Regions from separate parts of the Homo sapiens genome. Here all the other regions are linked to region 1. Evidence: promoter capture Hi-C in 16 types of primary human blood cells and fetal thymus (Javierre and others, 2016). All regions are on one chromosome and are shown on one strand. The core of a region is centred on a gene start or on the middle of the fragment in contact, and the rest is flanking DNA. Distances in the headings are between cores, read along the strand shown.

Region 1 (2,760 bases), core at 166-2,665:
TGGTAATGTTTTATTGCTTTTTCTAAAATTTAAATCAGAGCAACAGTCAATACATGCACACAAAAAAGGCAATTCTTCAAAAATGTGGGGGAAAAGCCTCCCATACCCATGTTACCTGCTGGTGAGTTTCAGGTAAGGGTGTAGCTGGGAGCATCCGGTTCCAAGACTGCCTTGTATTTCTCTTACAGGATGCCTCCCCTTCTGCTGCGGTTTTTAATCAGCGTTTCTAGGGCAGGCTTGCAGGCGGGGCCGCGAACCCCCTGTAGTTGTACACGGAGCTGGGTGAGGCTGCGGCTCTGGGCATTTCTGGGGAGGAGTTCCATGGCTTTCCACAGACTCTAACCACCCTGCAGCGAGCCGCATGCTATACGGGTTAAACTCGGGGCATATCGAACGAACAATTCACTTCACGGAAGACTAGCAATAACCAGGACACCTGCGCTATTGATCAGCTATCTCAACACCAGAGAGACCCACCAGCACAAGGGGCAAGAATTGGCCAGGAGGCGCGCGGCGCTGCGCCCTCACCGCGTCCAGACAGACCCTTGAACTTCACCGCCAAAAAACGCACCGCTCCGCAGACCCGACCCGGGAGAGGGGTTTAACTTCCCCTCACCTTTCCCATCCCTCCTTCATTTCCAAGGACATACTCAAAGGAAACTGGCAACACTCGGTCTAGGGTTTCGCTCCTGCCCTCGGCGGACACCGAAACCACTTCTCCCAGGGAAGTTAATTAAAGGAACCATTAATCCGCCCAAAAATCCAAAACCTACCCCCAAAGCTCAAGAGCTCTGAAAAGAGATCGAGGGCGCCTCTGCCGATCTTGAACATCTCTGCTCGTCGCTGGGGCTTAGAGGTGGGCAGGGGGTGCCAAAGGGGCGCAGGCAAGACCCGGCCAGAGGGTTAGACGCCGGCCCCCGTTCCGAGGCGGCCCAGTCTACACGCCAGCGACGCCGGCTGAGCCGGGCTTGGAGGCAGCCAGGTAAGCAGGTAGGTGTAGGCATGTGTCTGAGCAGACACACAGCTGCGGCGGATTAAAGTTCAAGCCCGTTCACACTCCGCTTCCCCTTCCCAGGTGTTCTCACGCACGGCCCAGGCAGCCACTTTCCCGGGGAAGCCTCGGCGCTCGACCGGACAGTCCCCTCTTTGTCATTCTTAATGACTCCCCTTGCCTCCCAGGCGCCAACCCATTGAGACTACTCGCTTCTCTCCACTCTCCCAGGCGGGCGCAGAAACCCCCGGAAAGGGGAACTCGGCGGGGACCGGGGGAAGCAGGGTGTCGCGCGGCGCAGGGGGCGCCGCAGCCGGCGTACGTACCCAGAGCGAACAGGGCGAGCTGTCCAGCCGAGGGGACCATTTTACGGGCGGGCGGGCAGCAGGCTCTCCAGCCTCCTGCCCTACCTGCGGTGCCCGAGTGGCGGAGCGGCGCCGCGGTGCGGGGGAAAAAGACGCAGACTAGGCAGGGCCTGCCCCCGGCGCGGGAGGGCGGAGGGAGGACCGAGCGCCTCTCTGCTGGCACTCGCCCCGCAGCGCTGCCCGCCGGGCGGAAATAGGAAGGCGGCTACCGTCACCTCCTCGCCACTCGGCGACCGGGGCACAGCTGACCCCCCCCTCCCGCCCCGATGGGGGTGCCCCCCTGAGGGCACAGAGGGTGGGGGTTTGGGGTAAGGGGCGGGGACGCTGAGCGCACCGAGCAGGGCGCGGGCTGCTGGGCGGGGCGACCTGGGATCCCAGAGCCTGGCGGCGCGAGCCGGGCACCCGGGCCGACGAAAAGGCAGGAAGCGCCTGACTTCAGACACCACCCCCGACTGCCAGCGCCGTGCGGCAGCGGACTCCAGCGTGCGGGGTCGGCGCCGGCCGCGTAGCCGGATTGTCCTGGGCCGCAGTGGCGGCTTCCAGGCTCTAGGCGGCGGAGCGGAGCCGCCCGGGCACCCGTTACCTACACCGAGGGGCCGCTCCTGGGGCATCTCTGGGGCGGGGAAGGCTGGAGGCTGGGGACGCAGCCAGGAAAGGGACCTGTGAGTTTCGCCGGCCGCTTGCCAAGACTTGGCTCAAGGAAAGTGGTCCCCTGAATCAATGAAGAATTTGTTAAACCAGGTTTCCCACCTGTGCCACAGTTCCCATCAATTCTGGCAACGCCTGCCGCCTTACCTCCCAGGCAGGCCACATCGTTAAGATCAGTCTTCGTACTTCTGGCCTGGGACTGATAAAAAATGGGTCTCTGTGACGAATCTGGTTATATGGCACCACCAGCTGAGGCCAAAAGCCTGCTAGCCTGCCACCAAGTGTACCCCGAAAGAGGGGTGTGTGGGCCCGAGTCACCTGGGTGGTCCTTTCAGGATTTGTGGCTCTGAGGTGGCCCCTGGTGCTGGAATTTGGGGAGGTGGAGGGGATAGAGGGAAGACATTCTGGGCGAAGAGTGGAAGATCCATAGGTTCCTCGGTGACCCTCATGGGGACAGTACACCCGGGAGATTCATGTTCTCCAGGTACCCGGAGCTCACGGACTGACCCTCTTCTCCTGCCTCCTCTGGCCTACGTGCTCCGGGTAGATCCACTTTCCTTGAAGGTGGGGGTGGGGGCTGTTGGGCCTGGGGAATCTTTTGCTGTTTACTTGGGGAGGCTCAGGCTCTCACGGTTGACCTCTGCCCAGTTTGTTTCATGTAAGTAGAGCAACCTAGTTTCAAGAAGGAAGCACCAGGCCATTGGTCTCAACATTTGGGCAGGAAGCACCAGTGTAAATCATTCCTTTCAATAGATT
Region 2 (2,760 bases), core at 125-2,624, 240 kb after region 1:
CTGTCTTTTCCAAGTGTGTTAACCTTATCATTATAAAGAATAATAAAGCTTATTCGTGTTTTAGTGGATAAAACCAGGACTGATTCTCTGGAGAAGACAATTCCTTCCTGGTGGGAAGGACCACTTAAACTATTAGATCATAATCTCTTTGTAGGGCCACCGAATCAGATCACAGGGTTCTGTCCATCAAGAGTCTAGTACTGGTAAAAGAGGAGACTTAAAGAAGTCTCCTACTCTCCTGTCGTCCTTTCTGCGCTTGCCCTCTCCCTGCAAAGCTCCTACTTGATTCACTGGGACATTTCTGAAAGGCCTAGGAACAGCCCCGGGCGGTACTTCTCTCCCCAGTCCCAGTCCTGAACGTGCGCTCTGCTCCCTCTTCTACCCCTCACCCTTCTCTCTCCTGGATTCGCCTCTGCTGCAACCAAACCCGTAGACTGCAAACGCTAGGAAGGAGACCATGTCTCCCAAGTTTGGGGCTGAGTTTCGTTAGATAGTAAAATCTACCAGCAGGTGCCGCTCCAACCACGGCCCACAGGACCCTTCCCGTTTGCGAGTTGCTGCGGCTCGACTGGGAAACACTCACTTTATCTTGACAGAGTTGAGTGGGAGTCTTGGGTGCACACTGGGACGTCGTGTTTCGTTACTTTAAAAAAGAAAAGTCACTTCCGTCAGGCCCCCCTTTCTCCTCACCCTCGTGTGTGCTTCGAGGCCGAGATGCAGAGAGCAAGAAAAAGGAGCGAAGGGGATCCCTGCGCGTCCCAAGCACCCACCAGCGCCTACGGTGTGAGATGAAGGCGCACCCCCTGGGCGCGAAGCTTTTAAAGCACCTGCCCAGGGAGACATTTTTGAAGTTGTCAGGGCCCCTCCTCTGTCCCCTCCCAGACCCGGGTCCTGCACAAATCCTGGAGGGTTAGCGGGCGAGGCGGCCACCGCAGCGGCCGCCAACGAGCAGCTGCACGGAGGTGCAGAAGAAGGAGGCCACTGCCATTCTCCTGACAAGCTGGGGGCGTGGGAGGCCTCGGGAGCTCGAAGTCGCCTCGAGCGGGGGTGGGCGGTGAGCGGACCCCCGGGTGTTGACCAGGTGTTTGGTGGTAGAGCAGGGAAGGGGGGAACGGACGTCGACCCTAGGGATCCCTCACCCGCTCACGCTCCTTGGCGTTGGCCACACGCCGCCGCTCCAGCACCAACTGGAGGTTTTCAGTGGACGAGTAGCCGCCCGAGGGCAGCCGCTTGAGCCGGCAGACAGCGGCCAGCTGGGGCAGCGGCCCGAACTGCTCCCGCAACACGTCCTCCAGCACCTCGGCTTGCGGGGTGCCCAGGAGCGCGGGCGGCGCGGCGCGGGGATCTAGGACGCCGGGCGCGGGGTCCATGGCAGGGCCGAGGCCGCTGAGGCCGGGCTTTCACCTGCGCACCCGGGGCCGCACGAGGCCCGGGCGGGGGCGGGGCGGGGGCGGGAGCTGGACCACCTGCAACCATTCCCCGGCTGCGTATTCCAATCCCGGCCTCCTCTCTGGAGGCTGCGTCCAGGCATCGCGTTGAATAAGCCGCACAGGTGTGACTCGGGAGCGCTGGAGCGCAGCCCCGGCTGCACACCTGGAACCGCCGGGAGCGTGGTAGTGGTGTTTTTCTCAATCCACATGCCACGGTTCCAGTCCCCCAAATTCCCATTTAATCAATCTGTCTTGGGGCCTGAGCTTCTGGCTATGTGTATACAGAAAAATGTGATGGATATCCACAAAACTTTTTTAAGAATTCGTTTTGAAATAAAAGTTGCGGGGAAAATGGCAAGAAGAGTTTCTAAGAGCTCCTGTACCCCCTTCGCCACGCTCTCTACTTGCTAAGTTTTCACGTTTGCTCCGTTGCCCTCTTTCTCGCTGTGAATATTCTCATTTTCATTATTCTTTTTCCATTCTATTTGAACTATTTTCTTTTTTCGCGAGTGGGGGGATACATCGCTTTATTCATTTTCCCCCTTTTCCACACAGACCTTTATTGTCAACACAGCCAAACACAGTTGTTACTTCAGAAAATGTGCTGGAAAATAGCGATCCCAAACTTGTTTAATAGTAGAGTACAATTTAGTACTCTAGAAATAATTAACTACATCTTCTGTTTTGAGTAGATTACTCATGAGAGTTTGTTTCTCTGGAGGTTATCAATATAACTGGAACATTCTGATCTTGCACCTGAAAATCAGACATGTTTCTGGAAGCCCTCTGTAAAATCATTCCTTCCAAGCATAGAAATACATTTTTTTTTCTTTGGTCTGAGAAAATATTTTTTCTACGCTTTTGTTTCAGGTTCAGGGGTATATGTGCAGGTTTGTTAAGTGGGTAAATTGTGTGTTGCTGAGGTTTGGTGTACGAATGATCCCGTGGCGTAAGTAGTGAGCCTAGTACCCAATAGGTATCCTTCCAACCCACGCCCCCCTCTTACTTCCCCCTCAAGCAGACCCCAGTGTCTATTGTTTCCATCTTTGTGTCCCTGTGTATTCAATGTTTAGCTCACACTTATAAAGTGAGAACAGGCAATGTTTGGTTTTCTGTTTCTGTGTTAGTTCCCTTACAATAATGACGTCTAGCTGCATCCATTGATCTATTCTTTTTTTAAAGTTTTTAAGTTGCAGACATGCTGTCATATCACCTCTAAATACTCCAGTGGGTATTCCCCCTAAACAAGGCCTCTCTTCCACATAACCGCAACACAACCACTCAAACTAGGAAGTAAGCATTGGTACTGTGCTACCATACAATCCATGGA
Region 3 (2,760 bases), core at 131-2,630, 180 kb before region 1:
GATGTGTATATATGGAAAGATTATAAGGAATTGGTTCATATGATTATGAAGGATGGCAAGTTCAAAATCTGCCAAGCCAATGTCCCAGTTCAAGTCTGAAGACCAGTAGGCTGCTGTAGAACCAGGAAGAGCTGATGGTCCTGTTTGAAGATCTGTCAGATAGGAGAAGGCACTCTTGCTTGGGAGAGGGTCAGCCTTTTAGTCTATTCAGACCTTCTACTGATTGGGTAAGGCCCACTCACATTATGGAAGAGTGGGGGGATCTGCTTTACTCAGTCTACTGATTTAAATGTTAATCACATCCGAAAACACCCTCACAGAAACAGCCAGAGTAATGTTTGGCCAAATATCTGGGCATCCTATGGTCCAGTCAAGTTGGTACATATTAATCATTATATCAGGTATGATTTGATTTTTTCCATTTAGCTTAATAATTCTGGAATTGATTTTGATATATGTTATATCTGATATATAGTACAAGGTAAGGACCTAAATTGATTTATTTTGCAACTAACTAACCAATCATCCCAACACTCTATATTATTTCTTTCCATTCTCATTGGTTTAGGTCTCATTTCTGTTGAGTTTTAGTTTAACAGGCATTCTTCTTTAATCATGTCTCAATCTTATTTTTCATATACAATTTATCTAGGCTATTTCATTATTTATCTATTTAACTGAGTATCTTTAATAGAAAATACTTTTTAGCATACCACATATTGAACAATTTACAATAAAATCACACCATAACATTTACTCTTGAAACAACAAAATCATATCCAAACATAAATTTCCTAAATTAGGTGCTTTACTTAGGTGTAAATTGGGGTATTCATCAAAAGGGGGTGCATAATTTTCAGTGTTTATGCCAAATTTACCATGTACTCATATTGTATGAATTAAGCTATGTATAAAAATATTTTGGGGGCCGGCATGGTGGCTCACGCCTGTAATCCCAGCACTTTGGGAGGCCAAGGCAGGCGGATCACCTGAGGTCAGGAGCTCGAGACCAGCTTGACCAATATGGTGAAACCATGTCTCTACTAAAAATACAAAAATTAGCTGGGCATGGTGGTGCATGCCTGTAATCCCAGCTACTTGGGAGGAGGCTGAGGCAGGAGAATCGCTATATACATATATATAGCAGTTAAATATGTATATCATCCAATTTTTATTAGAAAATAACTGACATATAATATTAACTACTGAAAAAATAGCAAACCCCATGCTATGGGTTGAATGTTTTCTCCAAAACTCCTGTTGGAATTTATTCCCCAGTTGAGAGGTGGGACCTTTAAGAGATGATTGGATTATGAGGATGCTGCCCTTATGAATGGATTAATACATTCGTGAATCAATGGATTCATGGGTTAATGGGCTAATGGATTAATGAATTATCATGGAAGTGGAACTGGTGGCTTTATTTTTTTTGAGACAGAGTTTCGCTCTTGTTGCCTAGGCTGGAGTGCAATGGTGCGATCTCAGCTCACAGCAACCTCTGCCTCCCAGGTTCAAGTGATGATTCTCCTGCCTCAGCCTTATGAGTAGCTGGGATTACAGGTAGCCCACCACCATGCCCAGCTACTTTTTGTATTTTTAGTAGAGATGGGGTTTTGTCATGTTGGCCAGGTTGGTCTGGAACTCCTGACCTCAGGTGATCCTCCTGCCTTGGCCTCCCAGAGTGCTGGGATCACAGGCATGAGCCACTGTGCCCGGTGGGACTGATGGCTTTAAAAGAAAAGGAAGAGACCTGAGCTTGTTAGCATGCTCAGCACCCTCACCATGTGATACCCTGTGTTTCAGGACTCTGCAGAGACCCCAGAAAGCTCTCACCAGACACAGCTCCTCAACCTTGGACTTCTTAGCCTCCACAACTGCAAGAAATACATTTCTTTGCTTTGTAAATTACCCAGTTTCAGGTATTCTATTATAAGCAACAGAAAATGTACTAAGATACCCTGCTTTGACTCCCTAGGCACGTTCTCGTTGGCTGGCACCATCTGTGACAAATCCTGAACTGTATTGTTTACAGACACAGCTGCAGCCTGCATTGGCACCAAAGTCAATTACTGATGTTGTGCTCTTTGCAGCCCTGGCCCTTGCTAATTCTTCTTGGAAGGAAGAGATGTGAAGACAGGTTGCAAATGTAGGAGTGGTAAGAATAACCAATAGTTCATGTCTCCTCTATCTTATTAACCCTCTCCCCATCTTTAGACTCCTCCAGATACTACTCTCTCTCCATCCATATCATCCATACCTGTGGCTTCAACTAAAGGGTTGGCTCTTGAACCCACATTTCCATTCTATATCTCACTCCTGAGCCCAAATTTACATTTGAGTGTTTAATGTTTACCTAAAGCTGTAAGTCAGCCTGATACTCCACAGACTGTACATCTCCTAAATAATACATGTGAACTGGTACTTTTTGAGACTGTCTCACTCAGTCGCCCAGGCTAGAGTGCAATGGCATGATCATAGCTTACTGTAGCCTCAAACCCGTAGGCTCAAGGGACCCTCTTACCTCAGCCTCCTGAGTAGCTGAGACTACAGGCACACAGCACTATGCCAGGCTAATTTTTTAATTTTTTTATAGACACGAGGTCTTGCTATGCTATGAGGTCAGCCCAGGCTGGTCTCAAACCCCTAGCCTCAAGTGATCCTCCTGCCTTGGCTTCCCAAAGTGCTGGGATTACAGGTGTGAGCCACCATGCCAGCCTATTATTTAAAAATTTTCAGCTTTATTGAGCTATACCTGATGAA
Region 4 (2,760 bases), core at 84-2,583, 140 kb before region 1:
GAAAGGATAGTCTTTTTCATAAATGGTGTTGGGAAAACTGGGTATCAACATGCAATAAAAAAATTTGATTTTTATCTTACACCACACACAAAAATCAACTCAAAATAGATGAAAGACTTAAATGTAAGACCTGAACTATAAAACTCCTATAAGAAAACATAGGAGAAATCTTCATGCATTGGTCTGGGTCATGATTTTCTGGATATATCCCCAAAAGCACAGGCAACAAAGGCAAAAATAGAACAATGAGACTGCATCAAACTAAAAAGCTTCTGCACATCAAAAGAAGTAATTAATAGAGTGAAAAGGCAGCCTATAGAATGGGAGAAAATGTTTGTAAACCATATATCAAATAAGGGGTTAATTTCCAAAATATATAAGGAAAACAGCTAATAACCAATTTAAAAATGGGCCAAATACTTGAACAGACATTTCTCCAAAGACAACACACAAATGGCCAATAGCTATATGAAAAGATGCTGAACGTCACTAGTTATCAGGGAAACAAATCAAAACCACACTGTTAGGATGGCTATTATGAAAAAGACAAAAGATAACAAGTGTTGGAAAATACATGGAGAAATTGGAGTACTTGACACTGTTGGTGGGAATGCAAAACGTTACAGCCTCTATGGAAAGCAGTATGAAGACTCTCCCTAAAATTAAAAATAGAACCACCATATGATTCAGCAGTCCCATTTCTGGATATATATACACACAAAGGAATTCAAATTAGGATCTCAAAAATGTATTTGCACTCCCAACTTCACTGCAGCATTATTCACAATAACCAAGATGTGGAAACAACCTAAATGCCCAATGTTGAATGAATAGAAAGGAAATATGGTTTATAGATACAATGGAATATTATTCAGCTTTAAAAAAGAAGGAAATCTTTCAATTTTCAACAATGCAGAAGAACCTGGAGAACATTATGCTAAGTGAAATAAGCCAGGCACATACAGACAAATAGTGCATGATCTTACATATATATATGGAATCTAAAATAGTCATGTTTATAGAATCAGAATTGTGGTTATCAGGAGGAAATGAGGAGTTGCTAATTGCAACAGGTATAGTCTTAATTACACAAGCTAAATAAGTTCTAGAGATCTGTACAACACTGTTCCTATAGTTAACAATACTGTATTGTACTCTTAAACATTTAACACAGTAATCTGTTAAGTGCTCTTACAATTACATATATGTGTGTATATATATATATATAATGTGTGTGTGTATTTGGCTAGTACTTAGTGCCACTAACCCTGAGATGGAGGTTAGTGGTACTAAGTCCTAGCCAAATACTTTCTCATGGTAACTAACAAATAACAACTAGGGTTGATGAAGGATCTTGGAGTTCAGCTAGCTGAGTGCCGACTAAAGTACCTGAGGATACCTCTTCTGAGGAAGAGATAATTTAGGAAGGACATACAAGCTGTCTTTAAGTGTTAGGAAGCATTATGTCAAACAGGGATTAGTTTCATTCATTATCACTCTAAAGCTCTACTCTCCACTTTTAAAAAATTGTTCACCCATAACAGTAAAATATTTTCAGTACTCTTCCGGCAAGTATATATTTATTTACAAGTTATATGCACATTAATTGTTAGCAGAGTTGAAGTTCTTTTTTGTTTTTAAGATGGAAAATAAGCCGTCTTTGTATTTTCCCCCCACTCTGGAGGGTGACTTGTGCTGCCCCTGGAATGTGCACACCCTGATATGGAGACCACGGTTTTGTGGGGACAGCTAGTACCAGCAGGAGAATTTCAAGAAAGTTGATTCTGGCCTTACTGGATTGTCATATCTATAGCCCTCTCCTATGGTAGAGCCCCAGGAATTAATTTTTCCAAGAGCAGTTATTTCTGGGGTTGTGCGATCCCGACACCTGATTAGACCAAGGTTGGTGCCCAGGCCAAAGCAAGCATGGACATAAAGGAAGAACATAAAAGAAGCTGTTGCATATCAGGTGGCATGTGAGTTGGGCCCTTCAGGAAGCAGATGCCAAGATGGAATTAAAAGAGCAACAGATGTACTGGAGGGAAATGTTTGGGAAGGATACAGGGGACAGGAAGCAGGAGTAGACAGAAAGATCCTGTAGACCATGAAGCTCGTCTGACACCAGAGAAAGGAGAGAGGGAAAGGAGGATTGTGTAGGAAGAGCCTCAGGCTGCAGGGCATCTGAGAAAAATCTCAGCTGGATGGGTGGGGAGTCTTCAGATGAGGTTGCCTGCTGGAAGAGTCCTTTGTCAGGAAACAGTGCCCTATCTCTGCTTCCCTTGCTGTGTTCAGTGACTGACTGGGAGTAGCCCATTCGGTGTGGGGCTTGTGAAGGCTGTGGTGGATCCTGAGGTGCAGCCGCTAGAGGCTGTCCACTGACTACACCCTCCCAGAAGGGAAGCTTGGAAAGAGCATTTCCACGGGGTTCTGAATTGCATGCTGACAAATTGACCCAACCAGATTTGCTCCCTTGTGAAGAACAAATGCCTGCTGCTAAGGATAGACGACTCACCCGGTCCTTGGGAATGCTTATAGGACCTCAATGACACTTGGCTCTTGTTTCAGTTCCCTGTGAGTGACCCCTGCAATCCAGGCAGAGTCCTGTCTTGGAATTCCTGCCTCCTCCCTTCTGCATGTGACCTTACCCTACTCCCTCATCATCTAGGTTCATGAGCGCATGCCTTCCCAGGACCCAGAAGAGCCTCCCTGAAACATTGTTACCTCTAAGGAAGAACTTTCTAATGCTAACAGCCACACAAC

The links. Contacts are between HindIII fragments. The CHiCAGO score rates a contact against its expected background, and 5 or more counts as called.
Region 2: the fragment with the promoter of FIGLA here is called in contact with the fragment with the promoter of TGFA in region 1 in 3 of 17 cell types (M2 macrophages, naive CD8 T cells and naive B cells); the score reaches 5.9 in M2 macrophages.
Region 3: a contact is called between a fragment that was not itself captured here and the fragment with the promoter of TGFA in region 1, in 2 of 17 cell types (M2 macrophages and M0 macrophages). The highest score is 6.0, in M2 macrophages.
Region 4: a fragment that was not itself captured here is called in contact with the fragment with the promoter of TGFA in region 1 in 2 of 17 cell types (M1 macrophages and M2 macrophages); the score reaches 5.4 in M1 macrophages.

The regions. Positions count from the first base shown.
Region 1 is chr2:70,552,411-70,555,170 of GRCh38, forward strand. TGFA (transforming growth factor alpha) reads right to left here and starts at 1,416. Exons shown (of 6, transcript NM_003236.4): 1 at 1,318-1,416. The coding sequence starts at 1,357. LOC124907824 (a long non-coding RNA gene) reads left to right here and starts at 298. Exons shown (of 2, transcript XR_007086906.1): 1 at 298-982. RefSeq lists a silencer at 1,477-1,546. The HindIII fragment of the contact is 13,094 bases long and covers 1-2,760 here.
Region 2 is chr2:70,789,269-70,792,028 of GRCh38, forward strand. It overlaps FIGLA (folliculogenesis specific bHLH transcription factor), which reads right to left and starts at 1,375. Exons shown (of 5, transcript NM_001004311.3): 1 at 1,140-1,375. The coding sequence starts at 1,370. The HindIII fragment of the contact is 3,375 bases long and covers 814-2,760 here.
Region 3 is chr2:70,372,800-70,375,559 of GRCh38, forward strand. No RefSeq gene overlaps it. Among named protein-coding and RNA genes, the nearest start is that of FAM136A, 72 kb to the left of the region's middle. The HindIII fragment of the contact is 6,977 bases long and covers 1-2,760 here.
Region 4 is chr2:70,409,349-70,412,108 of GRCh38, forward strand. No RefSeq gene overlaps it. Among named protein-coding and RNA genes, the nearest start is that of TGFA-IT1, 71 kb to the right of the region's middle. The HindIII fragment of the contact is 2,132 bases long and covers 268-2,399 here.